3 separate regions of the Homo sapiens genome follow, and regions 2 and 3 are each linked to region 1. The links are contacts of gene promoters, found by promoter capture Hi-C in blood cells and fetal thymus (Javierre and others, 2016). All regions are on one chromosome and are shown on one strand. The core of a region is centred on a gene start or on the middle of the fragment in contact, and the rest is flanking DNA. Distances in the headings are between cores, read along the strand shown.

What was found. The method cuts DNA at HindIII sites, captures the fragments that hold promoters and counts their contacts. A CHiCAGO score of 5 or more calls a contact.
Region 2: a contact is called between a fragment that was not itself captured here and the fragment with the promoter of APOBEC4 in region 1, in 3 of 17 cell types (erythroblasts, M2 macrophages and total CD8 T cells). The highest score is 9.9, in erythroblasts.
Region 3: a contact is called between a fragment that was not itself captured here and the fragment with the promoter of APOBEC4 in region 1, in 1 of 17 cell types (megakaryocytes). The highest score is 8.6, in megakaryocytes.

The regions. Positions count from the first base shown.
Region 1 is chr1:183,651,331-183,654,753 of GRCh38, forward strand. It overlaps APOBEC4 (apolipoprotein B mRNA editing enzyme catalytic polypeptide like 4), which reads right to left and starts at 1,986. Exons shown (of 2, transcript NM_203454.3): 1 at 1,742-1,986. It also overlaps a transcript of RGL1 not described here. The HindIII fragment of the contact is 5,397 bases long and covers 1-2,778 here.
Region 2 is chr1:184,660,220-184,663,381 of GRCh38, forward strand. No RefSeq gene overlaps it. Among named protein-coding and RNA genes, the nearest start is that of EDEM3, 93 kb to the right of the region's middle. The HindIII fragment of the contact is 734 bases long and covers 1,108-1,841 here.
Region 3 is chr1:184,690,066-184,693,706 of GRCh38, forward strand. It overlaps EDEM3 (ER degradation enhancing alpha-mannosidase like protein 3), which reads right to left. Exons shown (of 20, transcript NM_025191.4): 20 at 172-3,641. Among named protein-coding and RNA genes, the nearest start is that of EDEM3, 63 kb to the right of the region's middle. The HindIII fragment of the contact is 1,162 bases long and covers 947-2,108 here.

The sequences.
Region 1 (3,423 bases), core at 736-3,235:
TCAAAATCTCACTTATCATATCACAAGTATGAATACTTGTGCTAATAAATAAATTATGGCCTCTCATATGGAAGTGCTATGTTCACCTTCTGTCTTCCTCAGCCCACATCAGCTCATTCATTGCTGTATTTGATACAGCTTGATCTCTAGCCTGAAACCTGCAGAGTTCCTATGCTAATCCTATCCTGGGCAGAAAATATGTTAAAAGCCTCAATCCAGCTGTAGGTGGAATGTAGCTTTATTCATGTCACCATTATCTTAGTGGCTAATATCCTGCAGTAACTCTGGCACCACATACCCACCAGATTCTAGATTTCTCCTAGCCTCTGCTGTGTCATCTTAATCCATAGGATTGGACATTAGCTTTGTTTTTTCCTTAGTACTATATTTTCCTGATGTAACTGAATTCCTGCCTTGAGGCTTCCTAGACCTTGTCATAGCTTTCCTTCTAGAGAGCTGGATTTAACCCTTGGCAGTGGACGATCTCTTGGAACCTGACGCCATTTCCTGCTTACTCCCGAGCATTGTTTCCTCTCTGGACCTCCTCCTTGCTTAGCCTTCATCAGGCTGGATGGATCTCTCCATCAGAACTTGCCAAAACCAAGCCCAAACTTTCATGCTTTTTAATATTGTGCCCTTGATGTGGTCGACTTATGGGTGGTACACCGGACATCCAGGTTACTGCTCAGATTACAATTTCAACTCACCCATAGACAATTTACAGATTGATTTGGCTAAATGTTATGGAAACAGAACCAAAAGGCACTTTTCTGTCTTTATTACTATTTCTTAAGGTGATGTGTATGTGGAGTTAACTATATATAATGGTCCCATAATTACCCTTTTGGGAAACAAAAGTCTTTGTGTGTTTTTAGATAAAGGTAGCAAAATGGAAACTCCCTATTGCTTTTCTAAGCACGCCTTCCTTTGCACCCCCATCTTCTGTGGCTGTTTTAGCCAGAAATGATACATCATTACTGTCTTTAAGGAGATGGAGAGGACTGTGGCTTTAACACATAGTGGAGGGAGCTCTGTAGTCTCATTCTTGCTGACAACTTTTCAGTGTCAACCAACTATAGTTTCCTATTGGTGAAGTTTTCACTTTTTCAGAGTCTTTCTGGGCTTGTTCTTTGATCACCCTCATCTGAAGAGGAAGCAGGAAAGAACTGTTGCCCTCTTTGAACTCTTAGAGAATTCATGGTTTATTGTATCAATTTGTTATCGACCACAGATTATCTTGTTAACTTTTGGTATCTGTCATTTTATTCTCCCCAACCAGGTGGAAATGTACCCTGTTTAGGCCCAGGACCTACCTTAGCAACCTTGATTGGCTCACAAGCCAGGTTGCTTAAGACTTGTTTCCCCAGCAGCTGGTGTCCCTACTTCCTGCCTAGCCCTTTTCCTTTTGCTTTGTCTGTGCTTGGGAAATACATGTTATACTCTGTAGAGCAGATTTGCTGGCAGTAAGAACAGAGATGTGTAGAGCCCAGCGTGCTGGAGGGCTCTCTGCATCTGGCTGTGAGTGGCCCCTGGACTGGGACCGTGGGAGGACAGCTTTCCATAGTTTAACATAAATGAACCACACCATAAGGACAATCTGCTCTCATTTCACTCAACTAGGATTTAGTGAGTACTGTTAAAGCACAGTTTGCACTGGAGTAATTGGAGAATGGAGTTTGCCCTTCACAATCTGTGCACAATCTGTTAGCAGCTAAAAACAAATGTTAGCAGTTATAATTACCATCAATTTGTCTCCAGGCTTGGATCACATTCCAGGTGTTAGAAGAGATGGTCCATTTCCTTTTTTTTCTCCTTTAAGTCCCATGCCCTGTTTCAAGTAGCTTCAGAAGGCAATTGTGCTGTAAAGATTCACCTTGTAATGGGTTCAGGACTCTTTCACAGTTTGTGTCTATTCGTTCATTTGAACTTTGCTGTTCCAAGTTAGAAAGCCCTTGCTGAGGTGTGGCTACCTCTAAGAACACTGTTGATTGGGTGCCATGGTAACGTTTGCAAAGTAGCTACTGCTAGGATACAGCTCTGACACTTATTACTTTATTTGCATATCAAGCCACCTGTTCCAAAGATGAAAATATACAGGACTGCATATCCCAGTCTGGGTAAAAGGATAATAGCTGACTGTTGAAGAGAACATGTTGCAGTTTTTCTCCTGCTAGCTGAAGAATCAAGTTCTGAGGGCCTGCTCCTCAGCACCTTTCTCCTGGTCTAGAGTAGGTGCCAGGCCTGGCGGTTCTGTTGCCTGCGTGGGTGCCAGGGCTTCTCCTTGGGAGGCTTGCCCTCTGTGAGAGGGAGCAGAGAGTTGACTTCCTCCAAGAGGCCCATAGTCCCTGAAGGGGGTGTTTTTGATTCTGTCTAAACCTAGGCTATGTGTTAGCGGTTTCCCTCCTCTTAGAAATTGCCTGGAAGACTCTTGCTATTGGTATGTATGTGGTTCCCTCCAGTTTAAGACAAGATTTGTTCCAGGATCGGTTGTAGCCCCTTCTCTGTGGCTAACGGAAGAGCCACTTGTCCTTCTCCATTCTTTTCCTTAGTCTCCCTTGACCCCCACATCATCTCCTAGACACAAGGCACATTGATAGTCACAATTCACTGTCAATCACTCTGGATTATTCCCTCATTCCCCTTTCCCAGGCCACCTGAAGGAGTGAGTGGGGATTGCTATTGTGTACATTCCAGTAATAACTATTGGCTGTAAGCAGACATACTCTAAAAATAACTCAGGGATACTGAGCACCCAGAGGGCACCTTCTGTCTTCTCGAAGCTTCGCCACGCCTGTTTCCACTGTCAGACTTCCAGTCTGCACCACAGCACACATCCTTTCTCATCCAGAGTGCTCCTACTAGACGAGATGTTTTTGTCTCCTAAGGGCCTCAGGTGTATTCATGAACTCCTCAGCTGGTTATTTTCAGTTTCATCTTCCTTGGTGCTTGCTCTGGCACATGGTCACTGCTGCATCCTGTCCCTTCCCCACAGTTTGCCATGGGTCATCCCTTTTTTCTCATTGCTTGCATCTTCTAACTGAATGAACTTGTAAATATGGAACTGAAAGTCAATCCTCATAGCTCATCTTTTATTTAATCCTAATAAATGACAATCTATTGCAAACATTACTTTAAAAATATTACTTATCAAAAGCTGGGTGAAAGGATAATAGCTGACTGTTGAAGAGAACATGTTGGGGTTTTTCTCCCGCTAGCTGAAGAATCAAGTTCTGAGGGCCTGCTCAGTTCTGTAAGAAAGTATTAGCTGTCTGACAGGTTCCAGTGAGGGGAGGAAAAGACAAAAAATATAGTCCCCAAATCTGCACCAGCATCCCATGTGCACTGTGCACCTTCCATGGTGGATTAGATGCTCAGCAAATGATATACCTATGGAAGGTTAAGCCTAAAGAAACAGGAAAAATG
Region 2 (3,162 bases), core at 225-2,724, 1.0 Mb after region 1:
AGTAAAATCATCCCTCTCCCAAAAGAAATATTTTTGCCTCAGAAGCTGAGTGTTCTGCAGGGTGATGCTAACATGTGTCTGCTTGTGCCAGAGCTCAGATTTCTGTAGACTGGGTTATGTTTTCTTCTGACTGGAGATTTCATGTTTGTTTTATGGTGAGGAGGGAGGGAAAGAGAAAAATAGGAGAAATGTTTTCCTTTTCTGAATGATTTAGAATGCACCCTATATCAAACGCATGAGGATTTTTAAAGCATAATTTGCAAGATGTAGAGAGCTGGAAAGAAGTGCTACAGGACCAAATCCCATGTATGACACAGTAAGAAAGAAATGGACTGGCCTAGGGCAGCTCTGCCTAAACCATTTTGTAAGATTAAGCCACCCAGAATCTGCTGAAGAGAAACCAGCTTGAGGTGGCTGTCCCACCCACTCCCCACCTGTGTGTGTAAAATGGCATTCCCCAAGAAAGAGGCAGTCATTCCCCCTTTGAAAAAATGCTGAGAAAGGGTAGATCCTAACACAAGAAATGGAGCCTGGGAAGCCAGGCCCTGAGTTGGGCTGAGGCAGAGAGCATTTTCTTCTCTCCTGACCTTGGGCAGTTGGGTCTGGACAGGAAGTCATGATGCAGGGGTGGGCAGGCCCAGCCAGTGGAGCCTGGCCCCAAAACCCTCTGCAGAGGCCAAGGATAGGCCCACCTGGACCTGTGAGCCCTGACAGTGGCCACCTCTAACATTAATTATGACCTATTCTCTACTGTGTCCTACTTCCTTTTTGATGTCCCCAGCCCTTCAGAAAATTCCTCTAAAGAGCACCAATACTGAGGGTAGTGAAGGAGGCTGCTCCCTCACTGTGGAGGAAGAAGAAAGCTGTGTCTTCTCTGCCACGCCACCTCCCCAAAAGCAGATCACTGTGGGAGTGTAGTTAGTCCCCCGCCTCTATCTCTCCAGGGTCTGCCTCAGTTGCAGGCAGTCTCCTTGCCCCTGACATTCCCTTCCTGGGCAGCTCTCATATGGAGACTGAGCAAAGCAGCTTATTAAAATCCTGGCCCAGGTGGCACAGAACATTTGAAGGGCAATGGTCTCTCCGGAGATTCTTCACCTGGTTGCCGGAAGCTTTATTGGGTCTGCATTGAAGCTGTCTTCCCAGGCCCTATTCTCTTTCTTTTCTTCCTTTCCAAGGTGTTGATCTCTAAAACACCATGAAGTCCTCTTGAAGAACGCTGTCCTTGCTTCTGCCTTTGGAAAACCCAAACTGCAAGGGCAAAGGGCACAGAAGCAGTGGTGTGCTGACAGAACAGAGAAGTGGCAGAAGAAGACTATAGCCTGCACCTGAGCTCCTGGAGGTGGGGGTGGGGAATCTCAGAAGTAATTGACAGGGTCAGATGAAGAAGACAGACCAGTGATCTGTGAACCCTTGTAGCGCACGGACCCTCTGACTCTGATCCTTGCCACCTGCCTTCTATGGCAAAAGAGACTGCTGTGTTTGTTCATCGATCAAACTCCTTCCCACAAGTTTCTCTTGGCCAAGAATGTCTCTTCAGCCCTGAGTTTCCCATTTACTAATAGGTCTTTGTCACTCCAAGTGACAAGGCTTCCCATCTCCTGCAGTCTTATCCTCTAATCCAGTTATTTCTGTTTTTGGAGCATAAACAATAACTCCCCAGGTTTACCCTTTTAGCTTCCCCAACGCTTATGCTTCCCTATTCTTTCCTCCAGTTAGAGCAAGAGCAATCAGACCAAGATTTCAGCTCATGTTTATCACACACCATCTCAACAAAATCTACTAATGCTTTACAAGCCCTCACAAGCATTTCCTGCAGGCTCCACCACTTTGAGAAAAAGCAAAGCTTTTGAATTATCCCTGCTAGTGGTGTGCTGGTAAAATCAGCTCTCTGAAAAGTACATACATACATAGAGAACAATATAGCATTTGCTGATTTCCAATTTTGGTGGTGTAAATGCTCATACCATAACAGATTTCAAGCTACCAGTGAAATTTCACAGGCTTTTACAACCAGCTTGTAAAGTTCCTGAGTATTTAACATTGGCTTTTGATATCCTGTAGGAGCTGGCTTCAGCAGCCACTGGCAGGGCTATCCTCCAATTCTCCAGGTCACCCCCAACCAGCACCCATCTTATTCTCTTAGCAATGTCCTTGACTAACATAATTTTGTCATGACAGCATTCACCATGGCCCACACTGTCTTAGAGACACATTGCCTATCTGATCTCATTTAATCCTCACAAAATCAACCATCTTTATCTCCATTTCACATATCATGGTTACTACTGGAGGCTTATCACCTTTCATCAGACCTGCACTACACATAAAACATAACACACTGCATTGTTGGGCAAAGCAGTGCAGCCCTCTTACAAGTATTTTTTTAACACAATAAAGTTCTTTCAAGTGTAAATTTATTTTTCCATGACAAAAATAATGAACCACTTTGCAAAGAAAATTGGAAGGCAACCATTAATTCTTAAATGTGTTAAGATTATTTGATGTCATGGTAAAATGTTTATGAAATATTACATTTTAAAAGTGTAGTATAGTAACCTACAATGTGATACCAATTCTGTAAAACAGTAAATGTATTAATGAAACACTCTAAGTAAAGGAAAAGTGAGTAGTTATCGCTCTTTTTTAGTATGTTTTAATTGATATATCATGGTTATATATATTTTTGGGGTACATGTGATATTTTGATACATGTATACAACATGTAATGATCAAGTCAGGGTAATTGGGATGTCTGTCACCTCAAACATTTATCTTTTTTTGTGTCATGAACATTATAATTCTTTCCTTGTAGTTGTTTTAAAATATACAATAAATTATTATTCATTATAATTTTTTAATTAAATATTTTTAAAATTTTTATTATTTTTATTTTTTTTAGAGACAGGATCTTGCTGGTCACCCAGACTGGAGTGCAATGGTGCAATCATAGTTCACTGCAGCCTCGAACTCTTGGGCTCAAGCAGTCCTCCTACCTCAGCCTCCAGAGTTGTTATCTATAATTTTGAACAGTAGTTATCTGTAACAGTGAGAAGCAAAGGTTTTCCTCATTTCCTCTTTTACAGTTTCTGTATTTTCCATAATTGATACATCATCACATATTACAATTATGATGAGAAAACATGATACATATTTTTATTTGGA
Region 3 (3,641 bases), core at 278-2,777, 1.0 Mb after region 1:
TGTCCACTACAACCCCAGGTCCTATAATAGTGCCTGGCATACAGAAGGCATGCACGCCCTTAATCTTTGTTGAATAAATGAGTCAATGTCATTATATATATGTGTGTGTATATATATATAATGTGTATGTATATATGTGTATGGAGAGAGTGAGCAAGCGCTGGATCATAATTTATACACAATTCTAGAGTTTTATTCACTTAGCATTACCTTTGTGCATGCTACTGACTTGTTGAAAAACTTTCAGTGATTTCTTAGAACAAAATCCTTACTTTAGCCCACAAGCTTGGGTTTCTACAGCCTAAAATGTCCCCAGAATTCAATCCCCGGAGGATAAAATGAGTTTAAAAAAAAAAGGAAAACAGAGTGATAAACATCAAGACATAAAAGTATGAGGATATGCACAGTGATTCTAAAAATTCAAATTAAAACTAAACTGGAATATTTACATATTTTATTAAATCTTTACAATCAGTAATTATAATCAAATACATAATTATATACAGGATTATATACATTTTGCCCAGACTTTTACATCACAGTACATAGTTTCCCTTAGAAATATTGTATACATTTATCACCAAACAATAAAATCCAACAACAGTAGTGTTACAGCACCTGTTAGTACAGACATCTTTTTCATAAATTACATCATAAGAAAATATACGGCTGTAAATTGGGCTTTTAAAAATGTCTTTTATAAAATCTGAACATACAATATTTCATTCACAGAATGTTTTTTTTTTCTATGTTCTGACTGAAGCCTTGTGCATAAAACGACCGGCTGGAATATTTACTAAATTCTACCCCCCTCTAAAATTATAAGCAGTATTTGAATTACTTATGCTGAGCTTTCTTCATGATGAATTTGGCATGGGGTTTGGTGAGAGAACAAATGTTGGCTTTACTATAAAAAAGGTTGTGTGATGGTAATTTAAATTTTAAAAGCTTCTTGAGAGAGTAATTACATTAGTGAAGTTAAAATCAGAAAGTGTACAATTTTTCTTTTTACTAATACTGTAAAGAAAAAGGGAGACGTATAATGCCAAGAGTTAATTTGTTCTGAAACAATTATACTCTTTTTGGAAGCCTATTGCAATTTAAGAAGAAAAAAGAAAACTTGCCTAACAAAATATCCCATACCAAACATATCTAGTAAATTACAATTCTTTCACACTTAAAACTTTATGGGAAAAGTATTGCAAATAAGGGCATATCATTTCAATGAACTTTTATATGCAGAAAAAAACTAGCTATTTTATTTTTAGTAGGTAAACAGGTTAAGTTTTAAAACTTGAAAATACCTGAATTAAATACTTGCTCTAATATCTCTTAAAGGATTTCAGCTAAAATCCTTGATTCCAGATTTGTAAACATTATATAAATCTTTCTTAAACAATTTTATGGCTGTGGTGATCACTTCAGCTATATTTCTAAGCAGTCAACATTTAACTGAGGTAGACCAGATGTTTCTAAATTCGGGGTTTCATAGAATCCCCTGAATCTTTAGCAAGTTACTAAAATGTCTATAAAAGTTAACTAAAAAACAAAACACTAAAAAAAAAAAAAACAACTAATGCCTTTGGAATTTTTAATGAACTCAAAAACTACTTTGTGGCAGTATGTCAAGTAAGTAAATGAATGTAGAGTTGTAATTACAACGTTGGAGTTTTTTAGACGAACATTATCTCCTCTTTTCTTAACTAGGGAAATATTGAGTATAATTCCTTCTGGGTATTAAGAAAAATTGGTTAAATTTTTTCCTTTTCTTTTTTTAAGGATTTACTTTTCTTAACAAGTGAACAATTTGCTTCTAAGCGTCAATGAAAGGCAACACCTCCCTCTAATGGCCAAAGGAAGAGAGTGGCAGTAAGCTGGCTTTTCCAATGTGTCACACAATCCTTCATGCCATTAAGTTCTCCTTGTTGGAAAAGAAATTAGGTTGTTTTGATAACTTAGAAAAGTTAGTTTTAGACAACAGTGACTTTCAGCTACAAATACAAAATCAAATCCATGTATATAAGGCTTCTGTAATCGATGTCTTAGAGGAACATCTGCTCATTTTCTCCAAGCCCCAGTCCTATAAATCAAGGCAAGTCAAGTAATTAAGCTTCAACTATTTTGGCAGCTTTGCAATTAAAATGAACAAAGCACTATATCTATCCTTCCATATACTGTATATATTATAGTTCTATCTTGTTACACCAAATCTCACATGCAGAGAGACTAAAAATATCCATTTTGGTTTCAGGTATAATTAAAAGCCAATAAGGGTCTTGCATACTATTCTTTTTCCCCTCCCCAAAGTGAATTCTCCATCAGATTTACTACTCCCTGACTCAATTATATTTACCTGGAATATCTGAATGCAGGTATTTATCCTCTCAGAAAAGAATATGTTTACCTGGGATCTAAACATACTGTACACGAATATACATAACTGCAATACAGCACTGCTGTTTTTAACAGCTCCACTTACACCTCATCAGTACCTCACAACCGTGTTTTAGGAAAAAGTTTTGTGTAATGTTATGGTAAAGAGAAGAAAATTATGTCTCTTAAATATTCCTTTAGAACAAATTCAGGCAAGTTTAAAAAATAAATAAAATGAATAAAGCCATGATTTCAACAACAGGGCTGTCTACAAACATCAACAACAAAATTTAAAAATTTTTAAGACTTAAATGTGGCCAGCACCAGACTACTACAACAACAACAAACCAAAAAAAAAAAGGGGGGGGGTGGAAGTCTCATTAAGCTATATAGCTATATGTAGTTGTATTGTACTTTTTTTTTTAAACACAGGTCACCATACACTAATTTTCAAGTCCGTATCAGAAGGAATATCTGTTAAAAACAAAAACAAAAACCATGATTCAACAGAAAATGTGACAGATTCCTTAGGTGCAACTTTAGAAACCTAAGTTTCAAAGGAGAAAAACAGTAGTTACTCCAGGAATTTTAACTCACTAACCACAGTTCTATCATGGCTCTGTAAGACAGAAAAATGGAACAAAATGTATATAGCTGTTGGCGATACGAGCCTTGTGGCTCAAATTGCATACCAAACATGGGATGGAGTAAGGCTGATGGCTAGAGGTAATCACCTCTAAGAGAAATGAACTGGAAATGATTTATAATCTACCCTACAAGGATATAATGCTAGGTTCCATTTCAGAGTAGTCACAGCTTTCCCTATGGAAGGCCCAATGGGAGGTTCATATTGCAACATTACAGTTTCTCCCTTACTCCATTTTTCAGAAGTATTAAGTAAGCAATCTCCACAATGTATTATATGACCTTTTTACCTGGTCCCACTGATTAGTCTTTATGCAGAGAACTCACTGAGAAAGTACACTGGCTTCACCTTTGGTTTAAATAAAAAAGACATTGTTAAGAAGGAAAAAAAATCAAGTCATCTTGATCATTTGTCACTAAATGAAACAAGAGAAAGCAATGAGCAAAGACTGTTTTCACCATAAATGCATTTGCTTCATAACCACTTAGGTCACTTAGAGTGTTTTGTGAAGGCAGCATAATCAGAATGCCACAATACTCGGATGCATCTTCCCAAAAGAGCCTCTAACCCCCAAAACCAAGAAAGGCGAGCTTCCTTTAATTAGAAGGCTATCCAAACTCCT